Regions from separate parts of the Homo sapiens genome. Here region 2 is linked to region 1. Evidence: promoter capture Hi-C in 16 types of primary human blood cells and fetal thymus (Javierre and others, 2016). All regions are on one chromosome and are shown on one strand. The core of a region is centred on a gene start or on the middle of the fragment in contact, and the rest is flanking DNA. Distances in the headings are between cores, read along the strand shown. Region 1 holds the start of IL17F (interleukin 17F). Region 2 overlaps TFAP2B (transcription factor AP-2 beta).

What was found. The method cuts DNA at HindIII sites, captures the fragments that hold promoters and counts their contacts. A CHiCAGO score of 5 or more calls a contact.
Region 2: a fragment that was not itself captured here is called in contact with the fragment with the promoter of IL17F in region 1 in 1 of 17 cell types (neutrophils); the score reaches 8.5 in neutrophils.

What each region holds. Positions count from the first base shown.
Region 1 is chr6:52,240,383-52,248,016 of GRCh38, reverse strand. It overlaps IL17F (interleukin 17F), which reads left to right and starts at 3,517. Exons shown (of 3, transcript NM_052872.4): 1 at 3,517-3,620. The coding sequence starts at 3,588. It also overlaps the pseudogene SLC25A20P1. The HindIII fragment of the contact is 13,260 bases long and covers 1-5,378 here.
Region 2 is chr6:50,829,085-50,836,718 of GRCh38, reverse strand. It overlaps TFAP2B (transcription factor AP-2 beta), which reads right to left. Exons shown (of 7, transcript NM_003221.4): 4 at 439-658. Among named protein-coding and RNA genes, the nearest start is that of TFAP2B, 14 kb to the right of the region's middle. The HindIII fragment of the contact is 4,019 bases long and covers 3,646-7,634 here.

The DNA of each region.
Region 1 (7,634 bases), core at 2,268-4,767:
GTCCTCACTGTGTAGAAAGGAAAGTTTTTCACCCATTCTTGGGAAATTAGGCTACTCTACTCTAGTTTTACTTTTGATTACTTGTGTAAAAAAAAAAAAGCAAAAATCAATAGCTAATAGGTTATCTCTTCCTAAGCATATATGCCCAGTCCAGTTGGACACAGATGTGGGGCTCAAGTCCAAATCCCCATGTGCAGCCCAGGATTAGGTGGTACCCTGGAAATCAAGTGGGTGTTCCTGGCTAGGGATTGAAGATGATCTCAGCCCCTGGTCAGCTGGTTGAAAGCATCCAAAGTGCCTCCAGTGAGAAGCTGAGATTACCTCTTTAATGAGAAACACTTTGGGTGTGGTAGGGCCAACCGTCAACTGGTAGGCAGTATTCTTGCCACAGGTAGTATCTGGTCTAGAAACTACTAGATCTCCAAATCCTCTTAAGGTCCCTTACATTGACAAGAATGAATTCAAGTTGCGAAATGACACACCAACTTATACAAGGTAGAGGATGTCATTAAGGCAACAGTCTCACCAAGTCCATGCGCAGAGCTCTGATCCCACCGTCTCCTCCCCTCATTCTCCAAGTCTGCTTAGTTCTGCCCACTACTCTTCCTTCTCAGCAACAGTTCCAGCATCCAGAAGTCTTGAGCAGCCTTCTGCCTCACAAGTTGGGGGTGGCCCAATTAAGAAACTTCATGGCAACTTCAAGGCCAAGGAAACAGGCTGCATTGGCTGGGAAGGCTCGGGTCATCACTGCATCAGACCCTTTAGACAAGGATGTGATTCCTTCATCCCAGATCAGCTCCCTCAGCACATCTCCAAAACTGTTAGGATATTTCCCAGGAGGTGCGTCTGGAAGGGATACTTGAGCACATCTTGCGGGACTGCCATTGCCCAGTTGAAGATCCCTGCAATGCACCCAGCCACCAGGATTCAAGGCACACTGAGCTCACAGACCCTCTTTCCTTCCGGAGTGAAGATATTTTTTAGCCATTCATTTGTCATGAAATACGTTCCGCTAGCTGGAACGTCTCACATAAGGGTAAGCACGGTCCCTTTGTAGATGCCTCGGATCTGAAACTCCTGGTACAACTTCTTTGCACAGTCCAAGGTTCCAGTGTACTTGGTTTCCCCTGAAGAAGGCTGAAAGTGTAACAAGGACTTGATGGGTTCTCCAGGGGTCGCGATGCCTGTGGTGAATGTACCAGATAACATCCCAGCTGCAAACAGCTGGGGATAGCTGAGCACATCTTCTGGGTGTTTCTGTCATAGTTTCTTCCTCAAACCAAACCCAAAGAAGCACACAGCAAAGATGGGGGTGACACCGATGATAGGGGCAGCCATTCCCTTATATAGCCCTGTGATGTCCCTTCTAAGAGTCTTTGGGAGAGAGTCAAAGGTCCCAGAGTACATGGGAGGCTGTCTAGGCAAACTCGGTGGCTGTGTCTGCAGTCGGACCTTGACAGTGTCCAGAGGGTGCCCCATGAACACCAGGCACATGCCACCAAAGCCACTGGCCAGCAGGTTCTTGAGCAGGCTGATGGGCTTTGGCTGGTCGGCTATGGTCAGTCTGCCTATCCCTCAGTCTGTCAGTTCCTGGGCCGTCCTGGCTCTGCTGCCCCAGCTGCAGTGCCAGGGCTGCCAATCTTGCATTTAAAGGCTTCTACTTGCTAATTAATTTTGGTTAAAAAAAACCATTCTTAGAGATAGCCAAGGTAATGGGCATTTAAGTGTTGCATCAATGTGATTTTACATATATGTATATTTGTCCATGGCTCCTGGTTCATAACTCCCACAGCCCTCGTTATATCCTAAGTGATAAAAATAATAAGCATATCTTTTGTTAGGGTATTTAGCTTTTTTGTCTTTGTTTCCTGAAGCAGCTTCAGACAGCTTCAGAGCAATAAAGGTGAAAAAGACAGTCTTTTATTGTAATGTTGGGGCACTTTAGGCCTAAGAAATAGGCCTCAGAAAAAAGAATCTCCCTCTCTGAACTTCTCCTGCCCACCTTTTCTCCCCAAGACCATAGAAACAGAAAATATCCTGTCATCTAACATCACCCCCCACACCTTTTGTCTTGGAGCTGGCCATAAAGAAATTCTTTGATTTACCTTGTCTAATCATAGGCCATAAGACCCTCAATTCAGGAAGGGTCCTCCCCTCTACCCAGGAGGAAGGAAGGCTGCTCAGAGAGGCCAAGAAAAATCTGAACAGGCAGGCCTGGCTGAATTTCCTCATTCAACCTGTTAATATCAGGTTATACCCTTTTTATCCAATCACATTTGTTTACAGTTTTCCATGTTGTAATCATGTCTGCCCAATGAAGACTCCATAAAAGGCCCAAGAGGATGGGATACAAAGAGCCTTTGGACCGCTGAACTTGTGGAAGTTCTAAGAAAGGTAAACAGTAACTCATCCCTGTGCTGGGAGGGTGGTGCACCCCAGCTCCATGGGAAAGAACACTTCTGTGCTTGTGACCCTTTCAAACCTTGCCCTGTGTACCTTTTCATCTGGCTGTTGACTTGTATCCTTAAAAATATCCTTTAGAATATACTGGTAAATATAAATTAGTGTTCCCTAAGTTTTGTGAGCTGTTCTAACAAATTAATCAAGCCTAATCAAACTCAAGCGGTTTGTGGGAACCTGAACTTGAGGCCAGTCAGTCAGAAGTCCCAGAGGCTTGGACCTGTGATTGGTGCTTAAAGTGGGAGCAGTTTTGTGGGACTGAGCCTTCAGCCTGTGGGATCTGACTCTACCTACCTGGAGATAGCGTCAGAATTGAATTGGATTAGAAGATGCTTAGCTGGCGTTGGATGCAGAATTGATTGCTTGCTGGTTGATGGAGATAAATGCCCACATACATGGTCATGGAAATCTTTTGTGTTGCTGGTTGTGGTGTGAGAGCAGAGGAAAACAGTTTGTTTTATCAACACAATGAATAGTGATTATTTATTAAGCACCAGTAGGAGTCTAACCATGGGGTTAAAAAATAATTAGTTCAGGGAGATAACAAAACTACCAGGGTATATCATTTCTGAATTTTTCACTTATGTCATTCATTTCTTTAGTTTTGTTTTCCCATTCATAAAATGGAGGTAAAGATAGTTTAGTACCAAGGCTCCTCTAAGGATGAGTTTTCTCCCATTTAAATCACGATTCATATTGCGTGACTGGAAAGTAGAACATATGGTCCGTGACAAGGGTGTTGGCAATTTGTGGAAGAACAAAAAAGATTTGACAACAATTTCTAACTTGGTTCATCTCTGTAGTAAATTAAAAATTTTGCTCTGATTTGTGGGCAATGGGGGTGGAAGTAGGGTAGAAGGAAAGAAAAATTTGGTCCTTTTCCTGTCATCCCTTTCTTTAGGGTCCCCCTTTTGTTCCCCTTCGGGAAATGGAATAAAAAAAAAAACCCCTGCATTCGTCAGTAACTCCGGGTCAACCACAACTTAAAGACAGTAAGCAGGTCAATCGAAACAGGGGCAATGATTGCTATAAAACTAACAGGTACTCTCATTGATAGAACACAGGCATACACAGGAAGATACATTCACAGAAAGAGCTTCCTGCACAAAGTAAGCCACCAGCGCAACATGACAGTGAAGACCCTGCATGGCCCAGCCATGGTGAGTAGCAGCAATCATTCTGGTTTAAGGACTGTCATGCCTAGGATTTCAGAAAACAGAATCCTAAGGAATTAGGTTTGATTGGGGTCTTTTTGGAATTACTTCTTAAAAAACAGAGATGACTTTAATTTTGACTCCTGTCTGGTGGAGAAAAAGAAAAAAATAACTAGAAAAGTTATAATGGCATAAAAATGCAGCTCCTGGCCAGGCGTGGTGGCTCATGCCTGTAATCCCAGCACTTTAGGAGGCCAAGGCGGGCGGGTCACATGAGTTCAGGAGTTCGAGACCAGCCTGACCAACATAGCGAAACCCGGTCTCTACTAAAAATACAGAAATTAGGTCGAGCCTGGTGGCTCACGCCTGTAATCCCAGCACTTTGAGAGGCTGAGGTGGGTGGATCACTTGAGGTCAGGGGTTTGAGACCAGCCTGACTAACTTGAAACCCTGTCTCTACTAAAAATACAAAAATTAGCTGGGCATGGGTCAGTTGCCTGTAATCCCAGCTACTCGGGAGGCTGAGGCAGGAGAATGGCTTGAACCTGGGAGGCGGAGGTTGCAATGAGCCAAGATCACGCCACTGCACTCCATCCTGGGTGACATAGCGAGACTCTGTCTCAAAGAAAAAAAAATGCAGCTCCTCACCCAATGGCTTTTGCCCAGGTGGTGTTAGTGTGTGCCCAGGTGGTGTTAGTGTGTGCAGTCCTTGGCATCACAGACAACTAGCATGTTCTTTCCTGTGGCCATCCATTATAGAGTCAGGTTGGCCTGAAATTCTTATCTCATGGTGGGAGCTTGGCCAGCACTTTAGGGATTATGTACATATACATTTTAACCAAGGAAACTGGGGCCTCAAGAGGTTTAATGATTCCCCTGAGATTACAGGAGTGCCCTGGATGGAAGAAATGAAATCACCCAGTGTTGACTTTGGACAGCTCCTAGAGAAGGGAAATTTCCCATGTCTCTGATTGCTATTTATTTATTTTGTACCATCTCATTCTTCTTGGAGGAAAGAGAGATGTTAATGCAATGAAAATCTAGCCCCAGCAGGTCTGGAATCTTGCCTGACATTAGTCAGATAAGGCCTGAGAAGAATTTACTATAGAGGTACATGAAAACAGGGGTTAGGAAATCCCGCATCATATTATTGGCTTAGATAATTTCCTTTTTTTCTCCTTTTACAAGCCATACAACTTAAAAGAGCTTGAATATCATAAAAGGTTCATGGCATATAGCAATGGTATGTTTTATTTTATATTTATGTGTTATTTTAAAGATTACATGTAGCTCAGCAAAGTGCCATATTTAGGGGCATAGGCTTTGATGTCAGGCAGACCTGGCTCCACTGCTTGCTAAATGTAGGATTTTTGGGTAAGTTATTTATCTTCTCTGTGCCTCCGTTTCCTCAACTGTATGGTGGGGATAACAATGGCATCTTTCTCATGGCATTTATTGGGAGGATTAATTAATATCTTTGAGAATAAATGAGTCTATACTCTGTACTGGCAGATTTGTGTATGCTTAATTTTCAGTTAATTTGGCCATTCTAATAAACAACGACTGATAATGATAGAGAAAGCATTCAGTAAGTGTTAACTGTTCATATTAATATTGTTATTATTGTCCTGGAAATTCTGATCAATCCACTGAAGTAGATGGGAATACTTTCCACTTTATACAGATGAACAAAAGCTCAATTAAGCTATTTATTTAACATTGCTGGATACTGTAAGCACAAGAACTGGTACACCAATCTAAGCTTTCTGTCTCCACATACAGTATGCTTTTCTTTGGTTCAGAGGCAAGATTTGTGAATTTAAAGCCATTGCATCCAAGCAATTCTGTTGGGTAGCTTTGTGCTCCATAGCTATTTCTAATTCTAGTTTCCTTAAAGAAATCTGTTGGGTTGTCAGCAAGAAACATAACAGTGCAAGGAGCATTGGAATAGGATTAGAAGTTGAGAGGTGCAGGCAGATAGGACATCTTCAATAAGTAGTTGAGGCAAATTCTCATGGACCTAGAGGTTGGCCAGGTGCATGCTTACATGTGTCCACACATTGCTGGTGAGTATAGAGGATGGATGTTCAGGTTGCTCAGGTGAGCTCACATTAGAGTGAGGTGCAAAGCTAGGCTGAGAAGGTTGTTGTCCTGTTACAGCTCACCTTCACCTGGTGCTTTCCCTTGCCCCTGTCCCCTATTATACAGATTGAGAGCGATATCTATTCATCTGCTTTATAGGTGGCATATAAGAGTTCAAGTCATGCTCTGGATTTCTCTGAGAGGTGCTGTTTAAATCATTCTTAAGAACCAGCAACAGCCTGGTTCAGAGCCCCTGCTCTGTATTACATAACCACTAAAATCTACAGTTTCAGATCAAAAGCTTTGTGGAGCAAATTGGAGTATTTGCAGACATCATCTGATTTCCTGATAACGAGCTATGTGACCTACAACACTTATGCACATCTAGTACAGCTGTCACATTACCTAAAACACTTAGCTCTTCTAATGAGACAAAACTAAGATTAATGTTGGTAATAATAAAAATGACCTTCAATGACAATAGCACTGACTACTGACACCTAGGTTTGAGTCCCCAGACTGGTACTCATAGGCTGGTGAACCCAATCAAGTTATTTATTCCCTCTGGGACAGAACTCTTTCACCTGTCTAATTGGGATAATTAATACTAGCTCTGATTACCTCACCAGGTAGTTGTGAAAATCCAGTGTTTAAAGAGATGTAAAAGAATTTTCTAATATACTCTAAGAATATATAAGCAAATGTAATAATGACTTGTTAGAAGCATTGTAATTATTGCTAAGTCATATAACTCCAATGTATGTATTTAAAAGTTTTCATAATGAAAATTAATAGTGATTCAGTGAGTATGACACAGAAGAGGAAAGAGAAAACACAAAGGAGGAATTTACTTAAGAACCCTAAATATGTGATTGGTAGGCTTGGGAAGTTATCTAAGACCCTCTAATATAAGTTGGCATCTTTTAAAAAAAAAGTCATAGCAGGCCAGGCGCGGTAGCTCAGGCCTGTAATCCCAGCATTTTGGGAGGCCGAGGTGGGCAGATCACTTGAGGTCAGGAGTTCAAGACCAGCCTGACCACATGATGAAACCCTATATCTACTAAAAATACAAAAAATTATCAGGTGTGGTGGCGCACGTATGTAATCCCAGCTACTCGGAAGGCTGAGGCAGGAGAATCGCTTGAACCTGGGAGGCGGAGATTGCAGTAAACCAAGATTGTGCCACTGTACTCCAGCCTGGGCGACAGAGTGAGACTCCATCAAAACAAACAAACAAACAAACAAACAAACAAACGCCATAGCAGTTTGTCAAGACAAGGTATATGAGTGTAAATTCCACATCTGTCTAGTCCACTGTGTAGCACAATATAGAGTTAGCAAGAGTCGCCAGTATTGGATACTTATCATATGCTGCCAGTGTTCTTCATAATTTATATGGATCATCTCATTTAATCTTCACATTTTTTTTTTTTTTGAGGAAACAGAGTCATCGCTTCTAAGAGTCCTGGAATTGAGTTACAGACCCTGGACTTCTGACTCTGAAGCCCATGCCCTGAGCTACCACACTGTAAAGTCAAGAGCTAGTTGTTGAATGAATGAACGATTGTGGGGGATGAAAGTTGATGATTGCTGATTATCTAAAGGCAAATCAGCCTCATTCTGACTCTTCTGGGTCAATCTTGCTTTCAACTTCTTTTTAGTGTCAGCTTCCTCAGTATGGCAAATGGACACTATGACCTTTTTGTTTACTCTTATTGTTTTTTGTCTCTAGTATCTGCAAAATATGAAAAGGAAGGCCTTTGAAACCAACATGTCTAATCACCTTCCCTACCTTAACTCATGGAAGGTGTGAGCCTGAACAACGCTAAGCCTAGAGAATAAAAGCAACTTATTTTCAGCTCTTTTTTTTTTTTTTTTTTTTCCAAGCAGGAGTCTCGCACTGTCGCCCAGGCTGGAGTGCAGTGGTGCAATTTCGGC
Region 2 (7,634 bases), core at 4,406-6,905, 1.4 Mb after region 1:
ACACTGAAGGTATGAAGAGAGTTGCTTCATGAAACTTATGGGGTTTTTTGTGGGGGGGCTGGGGGGCTGTTAGTTCCGCGTTGTACTCAGGCTGGAGAATGCCCCCTGAGATGTCCTAGGGGTGACAGGAAGAGAGGCGCCAGGCGCAGGGCCAGGAAAGTGAAAGGTTCCCAGGGCGGCAAAATCTGCGGTAGGACTTGCGCGGCGCGGGCAGGCCTGGATGCAAGGACACTAGAGTTTGTGGGCGAGCAGGTGGCGGCCGCGGATCCTCCCAAGCGCTGCGCGAAAGCAATGCTCCGGCCACCCGGTTGCTAGGCAACTGCGTCAGACTGCAGATTGGGTTTTGCTGGAACCTTCTCCTCACTGTCCAATAAATAAAAACTGGTGGGTTTTTGTTTGTTTTTTTGTTTTTGTTTTTGTTTTTCGTGGTGGGGTTACCTTCTGAGGACTCCGCCGAGGAGAGATGCATTGAGGCATTCAGGGGGCGACAGCCGTCTCTGAACTTCTCCCACAGTTACTTTGTACTTCGAAGTTGAACTGAGCAGAGACAAACGGCCTGGGACGGAGCAAAACACCTCGCCGGTGTTGACAGACATGCCTCCCAGGAAGCCGTCTTTATTCATCATTAGAGAAGTCACCGATTTGGGAGGAACTGGAACTAGAAAGAGAGAAAAAATTGCCATAAAGGTGACCAAGTTTCGATCCTGATGACCGGCTGATAGAATGTGTCTCTGTGTGAGGCCACAGGACAGACACCAAGTGGAAAGCTGAGGGAGGAAGTGTTTATTCCAGTGGGGCTGCAGTGCGTTCAGAGAGCTGTAAACAAACAGATGGCAAAGCCATACCTCCTCTGGAAACTTACTTCGTGTGTAGACATATGAGTGTCATTTGCTACAGTCCTGCTCACTACCCAAATCAAGAAATCAAACAACCCAGAGTTTGGACTGTGCTGGGAACCAGGCAAATCTTATTCCATCGTGTGCTAACTCTGTGACCTTAGACACCTGACTGACTCTGTCTGAACCTCCTCAGTTTCCTTATCTGTCTCCTGAGGATAATAATGCCTATCTCATTTGGTGCTGAAGCCTGACGGTGATTATCACCATGCGGTGATATAAAATGGTAATTCCAATGGAAACCCCTTCCTCCTTTCCTATTGGACCCAGATCTATGGTCATCACTAGAAAGGATAAGGAGGGTGGACCCCATCAGATACTATGCCCAAGAACAGACAAATAATACCATTGAGCTGGGGAGCTGGGCCCAAAACAGCTGCTCATCTCTTTAAAGTGGGCCCCATTCTTCCCTACATAATAACAACAGATTCATTTAGAAAGGAACCCAAATGCTCATCTTCAGTGAAAGCAATTCTGCAGTGACATGAATTTTGTTTACAAATTAAAGCACCGGCTAGTGATTGTTTGGAACAGTTATGATTTACAACAGGTGCCCTGATCAATCAACCAATCACTCTAATTCATATGAGCGGCGGTCTTGCCTTGCCCCAGTTGTTTCTTTTCGGCAAGTAATTGATAACAAACCGCACTCAAGGTATGTTTTATGCAGAAGTTAATAAGAGTTGACAGCTGGTTGCCACTGCTACCCTGGTGCATTCAGCCTCTCCAGCCTGTATTTCTGCTTAATTGTGTTTCAGTGTCATCTGCATGTCAGAAAGAGGCTAGGCTCAGTGGAACCAGAAGGCTGGGAATGAGGAACAGTCCATCTCCCAGTTCCCTGGCAGTATTTTCCCTTGGACTTCACTGCTTAAGCCCATTTTCTTTATGTAGGTTTTACAGGCCCCTAAACAGGTGGCTATACCTCCTGACTTTCCCTGTAACTTTGCTTCTTCCACTGGGATATGAGGCCTCCAAATCTTCATGGTATTTGTCGATCACCAGTCCAAAAAATCTTTGGAAACATGCATCTGGTGTGAAAAAAGAGGTTTCCAACCCTACCTATTTGATAAAGTCTATCTCACTTTGTAATTGTGTGGGGAAAAGATAGGCTGTTTCTGTCGTCTGGAGCCTAGAACCCTATATATCAAACAAGATGCATAACATCCCTTCTATGGAACAGACTAACCAATACTGTGTATTTCTCTAACAGTTTATTCTCTCTACCACAGATTCCAGTATACAAACCTCCATAGTTGTTTAGAGACTCCTAGAAGCCAGGTTGCTCCCAAATCTTTTATTTACTATGAATTTCATTAGATCCTTTACAAACACCTTGTGGAAAAGAGCTTTATTACAAGAGTGGATGAGGAGACTAAAACATTCCCTTCTGCTACTACCCAGTAGGCATTTTAGGATCTATGGATCTGTCCACAGAGCCCAAGACCTTGTCCCAGATGGATGAATTGATGTTGGCAACAGAGTAAATATTCTGCCCTGTCATGGGGCGGGGACAGGGGATATAGAGAGGTGTTCCTTCTTTTTGATTTCCCTCATTTTCTCATCAGTGAATCTGCTTCCCATTTAAGAATGAATCAATGAAAAGTTGAAGTGTGAATGTTAATCAGATTTGAGTGAGATGTGAAGTTAAAGTCACTTAATAGACAGGTGATTGGTGGGGGCATCTATTTCAGTCTATCTTACTCTTCACAACAGTGCTGATTTCCATAATTCAGACTCATAGTGAAGGCATTAAAAACAAATAATTGACAATCATGGGAGTTGGCATTATGAAAACTTGGAAAAACTTATTTTCCAAAATATAGATGGCCCTTTGTAATTTTAACATGATATGAATTATAGAAATAAATTAGATAAAAATCTCACCTCTATACTTAGCAACATATTTATCTCTAAATACTATTTAGAATATTTTTTTAAATAACAACCAACTCCACTAAGCTGAAAGTACTAAATTCACTTCCTGCTTCCCACAGTGGATAACCAAATACCCACTGAGTATTGGAATCTTACCTGCTTCTCCCTGTCCCAGAAGCTAAACCTCTGGAAAAGCCGGGCCTTTAAAGAAATGTTATAAACCACCCTGTAATTTCACTATTGTTAATTGCCTGATTCACCCGACAAGAGCTATTTCCTTTGGGGAATGTATATTGCTCCCTGCCATGGGTTGAGTACCTTTCTGCATATACATTATCACCTGCATACCCCCAATCCAATCAGCTTCTGTCAGTACACTGCCCTCTCTGGGAAGGTTTTTGTTTTTGTTTTTGTTTTTGTTTTTTCCCCTTCCAGTCAAAGCAAGGACAATGTCAGAAGATGTGCTTTGGACTATATTTCCATTTTCTAATTTAAGTATCACAATTGTGTTCCCAGCCTCCTATCCTCATGTTCTAAACCTCTCTCCTTAGTATTGGTCCCCTAGACCAGATCTGACACATTTCTTGTCCCAACTTTCCTTTAGATCCATAACTCCATCATAATCTACTTTCCCTTCCACTTTCACACCTGCTTAGTTCACCTGATTAACCCCATATTTTACTTTCTTTGTCTTTTCCCTTCTGCTTTCTTCCAGTTTATCAATAAACCCAGAGCTCAACAGGGCCTGGTTGATTTGTTAGTAATTATGAGCACACTGTTCCTGCTCATGGAACCCAGAGATGACTGAGATAGGTTTAAAGCGACAGCAGGAAATAGTAAGGAAATGGGGCATGGCAAAACTCAGCATGAAGCTTTCAGTTCTTTACATGTTTACAATTTTCTGTGCATACATTAGAAGTATTTTTTTCCTCTTCAGTTCCCAGTTGGGTGTCAAGGCCAAGTTCTGGATGTAACACCCACAAAACTCATTCCCCTCCCTTTTTTGCTGCATTATGCTGGGGAGAAGTAAAAAAAGGCTAAAAACAGATCAATATTTCATTAACATGGCTGGAGTTTTATTTAAAAGAGAGGAAAGAAAAATGATTAGAGAAAATACTATTCATTAGTTGACTATAGAAGAGCTAAAGTGTTAATAGGCTAGTTTTTAATCTCTACTCTTTAAACTTAAGTGTGAAATTATAGTTTTGAGAACTTTGTATTTGATTCTATCTGCTGGTGAGGAGAAGGGAAGAAATGAACCTATCTTATAGATTCATAAGGTAAGTACCTTCGAAAGGCACTCTTGACCTAAAGATGTAAATGACATTGGGAAACAACCAGGAGGCTTAGCACTGACTCAAAGTGGCCCCTAAAAGTTAGCACTCTTTTTCTCACCAGCAAAGCACCCTTTCCTCAGATCTAAACACTTCCTCATGTACCTGAGTGTAAAATTTTATTCCACAACTATAGTGCATGTATAAGTGTGGGGACTGAAATTGTGGGGAAAAAAATAATTTCCACAAATAAAGCAGGGATATTAAAAAACTCAAACATCCAGTATTGGCATCTTATAGGGACAGAGTCTAGAAGGCTAAAAGGCTGGAAACTGAGTTGAGTCTCATCACTTACATGGTGTATAGGACCTTGAGAAAGTCATTTATTGTCTCTCTCAGTTTCAGCACTTGGAGTGTTGAAGAAGAATGTCTAACCTACCTGACTTTGAAAGAGTGGCTGCAGTGTTTCTCAGGGTCTCTAGTTGATAAATAGCTATTGGGATCCAAGTCCAACCTGGAAATGGGAACTTCTTCCTTTTGAGAGGAAACTCATACCGTTCAGAGACTCTGACAGACTCTCAGAGCATTTTACCTTCTAGGTCAGAAGAATCCCAACAGAATCAATTGTAATAGAAATTTGGCAATTTCTTTATTTCCCATGAAAGAAAATCCACACCAGTCAAAGTGTTTATGTGGGGAAGGGGCCAGAACTAACGGGAAAGAAAGTGGGAGAGAATGGAGGATGAACTGAAACTAACCAAACAGGATATCCCTAAGACCAATGAAAATGCCCCACAGTCACAACATTTGAACCTTGGATTCCAGCCACGCTAGCCTTTCCAAGAAATCCCAGAATATTTTCTGCTGTCTAAGGTGTTAAACAGATTGCATATTGGCTTCTTATTGCACCAAAAACTTTTTCTTAAAGTTTAGGTGAGCCTTTTTTTGAGTTAAGCAACATGATGGTGGCAGTGATCATTTTTATTAGCTGGGTACACCCTCTTCCTCCCCCCAGATTTCTAATCTTAATGGAACTGAGAGTTAAGAATGATTTTTTAATGTCTCGTTGGATTTTTAGACTGTTAATGTACCGAATCCTTCTCATTATTACTTTATTGATTGCTCATTGACCAGCCCCCTTCAAATCGTATTAACCACCCTCTGCCGGTTTAGATTAGGAGAGTTTAAAAAGCACCTTTCATTACTCCCCCCGCCCACTCCCGCCATGGAGTTGAGACTAGGCAGCTTAATGGGAGCTCTAATGGGGCAGCTAAGAGGAGAGGGGCCACGGTCCCTGCAGATTGCATTAATAGCTCAAAGGGGGCCAATACAGAAAATTAGCCGTAAACGAGCTCTGGAGATCTTCAAATGAAAGAGCCATTTATCACGCTGGCTACCTTCACTCCACTCGTTTGCTCTCTCTACTGGGAACAACTCATTTCCTCTTAACTAAATTACTTCAGAAATGTCAGCTAAGCCCAGATAGCAAACATAACAAGAGAGGGAGCCCATAATCTATGGGGTGACATAAACACAGGTGAAAAATTAGATTGGTTAAATTTTAGAAGGGGCCTTACCATAACTGGAGAAAGAGACATAGAGATAGAGACATGCATCATTTATGCCTAAGTCTTCTAGCTTCATAAACACAGACTCAGAGACCCCCAAACCTAGACCACTTGCCAATCTGTTACTAATGAGGTAGAATTTTTTTTTATCTGCCTAAAAGCCCATTAGAAAATATATTAAGAAACTAAGCCTTCTTCTAGGTGTTGAAATTTAGAATATTTAGTTCACAAGACTTTCTCACCTCTTTTACAAAATTCATCTCTTGGAAACATCTCTCATAATTGGGGAGATGGTGAGCAAAGAGACTAGGGTGCAGGGGAAGGGGCTAATGAACTCACCACAACTTTAAGTGGCTTATACTGAGTTAGAAAAGTAAATCAACCTCGTATTCTTATTTTGCCTATGGCTCTCTAAAGAAAAAAGACATAGGATCTTTTCTTCATGTAATAAAGCAAATATGTCAAATATTAAATAATGCAACTGACCTACCATTTCATCATATTCATACCACACCCTCTGAATCAATTAAAGTAACTGGGATGCTACTTAAATATTTTAAGCTGCACATTTTTTAAAAAGCTGTACATTTGGGGGGACATAAAATGTACTCTTCTGTTTCCAAAAACAGAACCATCAACTTTAGTCATTATTCTCTTTTTCTTATTCCTGGAGACAACCTTGCACATAAATATTCACATTTCACTGACAAACATATACAAGCTCTGAAACCAAAGCATCCCACATCTAAGAAAATCTTCAGCTCTGTTTTGCTAGGCAAGCTAAGTTACAAATATTTTTATTGGACTGGCTATTAATAACATTTCTGATTGGTCATCTGTTGGGCATGTTCCCCTGCCAGCCCAAATGATGTTGCTAGGATACAGAACCCTGAGCTAAGTGGTTCTAGCTTTCCATGAAAAGGGAGGAGGAACTAAAACAAACTGAAAAAAGCCAATGGAGAAGCTCCTCCCCGACCCCACCCTAATCAACCAGCAATTAACCGAAAGAGGAGACCCAAGAGAAAACAGGAAAAGTGAGCTGTCAGTCAGCACAGTTGCAAATTTAAGCACCGAGCCTGGGTATCCTAGCAAACCCAAAAGCTGGCATTAAAAGCCAAAACAATATTATTTGAAGATGAGAGAGAGAGAGAGAGAGATGTTTGAAGCAACCACTAAAATAAATAGTTATGCCCCAAACCTTACTATACTTTAGGATATTCATTCCAAGGCCAAATGGCATCATTGCAAGTACAGCTTCCCCCACCCACCTTTCAAAGCTACTCTTCCTGACTTTGTAAAAGAAGACAATTTAGAATACCTCACCCTGTTTGGAATCCTTATTCCACAACCCTCCTACTATCCCATTTGAGTCTGGATGAATTACTTCCCAAAGAATTTTTTCTTTTAATTGTTTTTGTTGAATGTCAAGTGGCTCAAGTGAATCATAAATGATTGAAAGCTGAGGATTGTTGACACTAAATATAGAGACAGAATTTCTTCGACATCCATGAGAAAGGGTTACAGTATTAAAATTGTATCGTCAAATGCCAGTTCCTGTGATAATTAAAGATTGCACTGTTTACACATTTAAACTCCTAAATTTGTGGCATTTGAGTGACATTCAGGCCTTTTAGCAGCTACACTAATCGCCAGGCATTCTCTCAGTGACTGTCAGAGAAAAGCAGAAAAAATTAAGCAGCTGCAATACACCCAAAATGAGTTATTGTAATTACATTTAATTAGTTTAATTAGTTAATTATTTTGCTTACAGCTGTACAAGAGACTGCAAACATTTGTTAATATCACATGCCCTTTAACAGTATGGGGTGATTCCACAGTCACACTAAATCATGAATGCATATGTAGGAAGATTTAGAAATGTGCATAGGCTGTCTCAGCTTCTCAGGATGCGCATATTTAGCAACAAATTTGGCACAATGAAAAAATAAATAAATAAAAACAACTCATAAAACATAGAGAACTGGGAACAAAATTATCACCAAAAAAATCAAATACAAAAC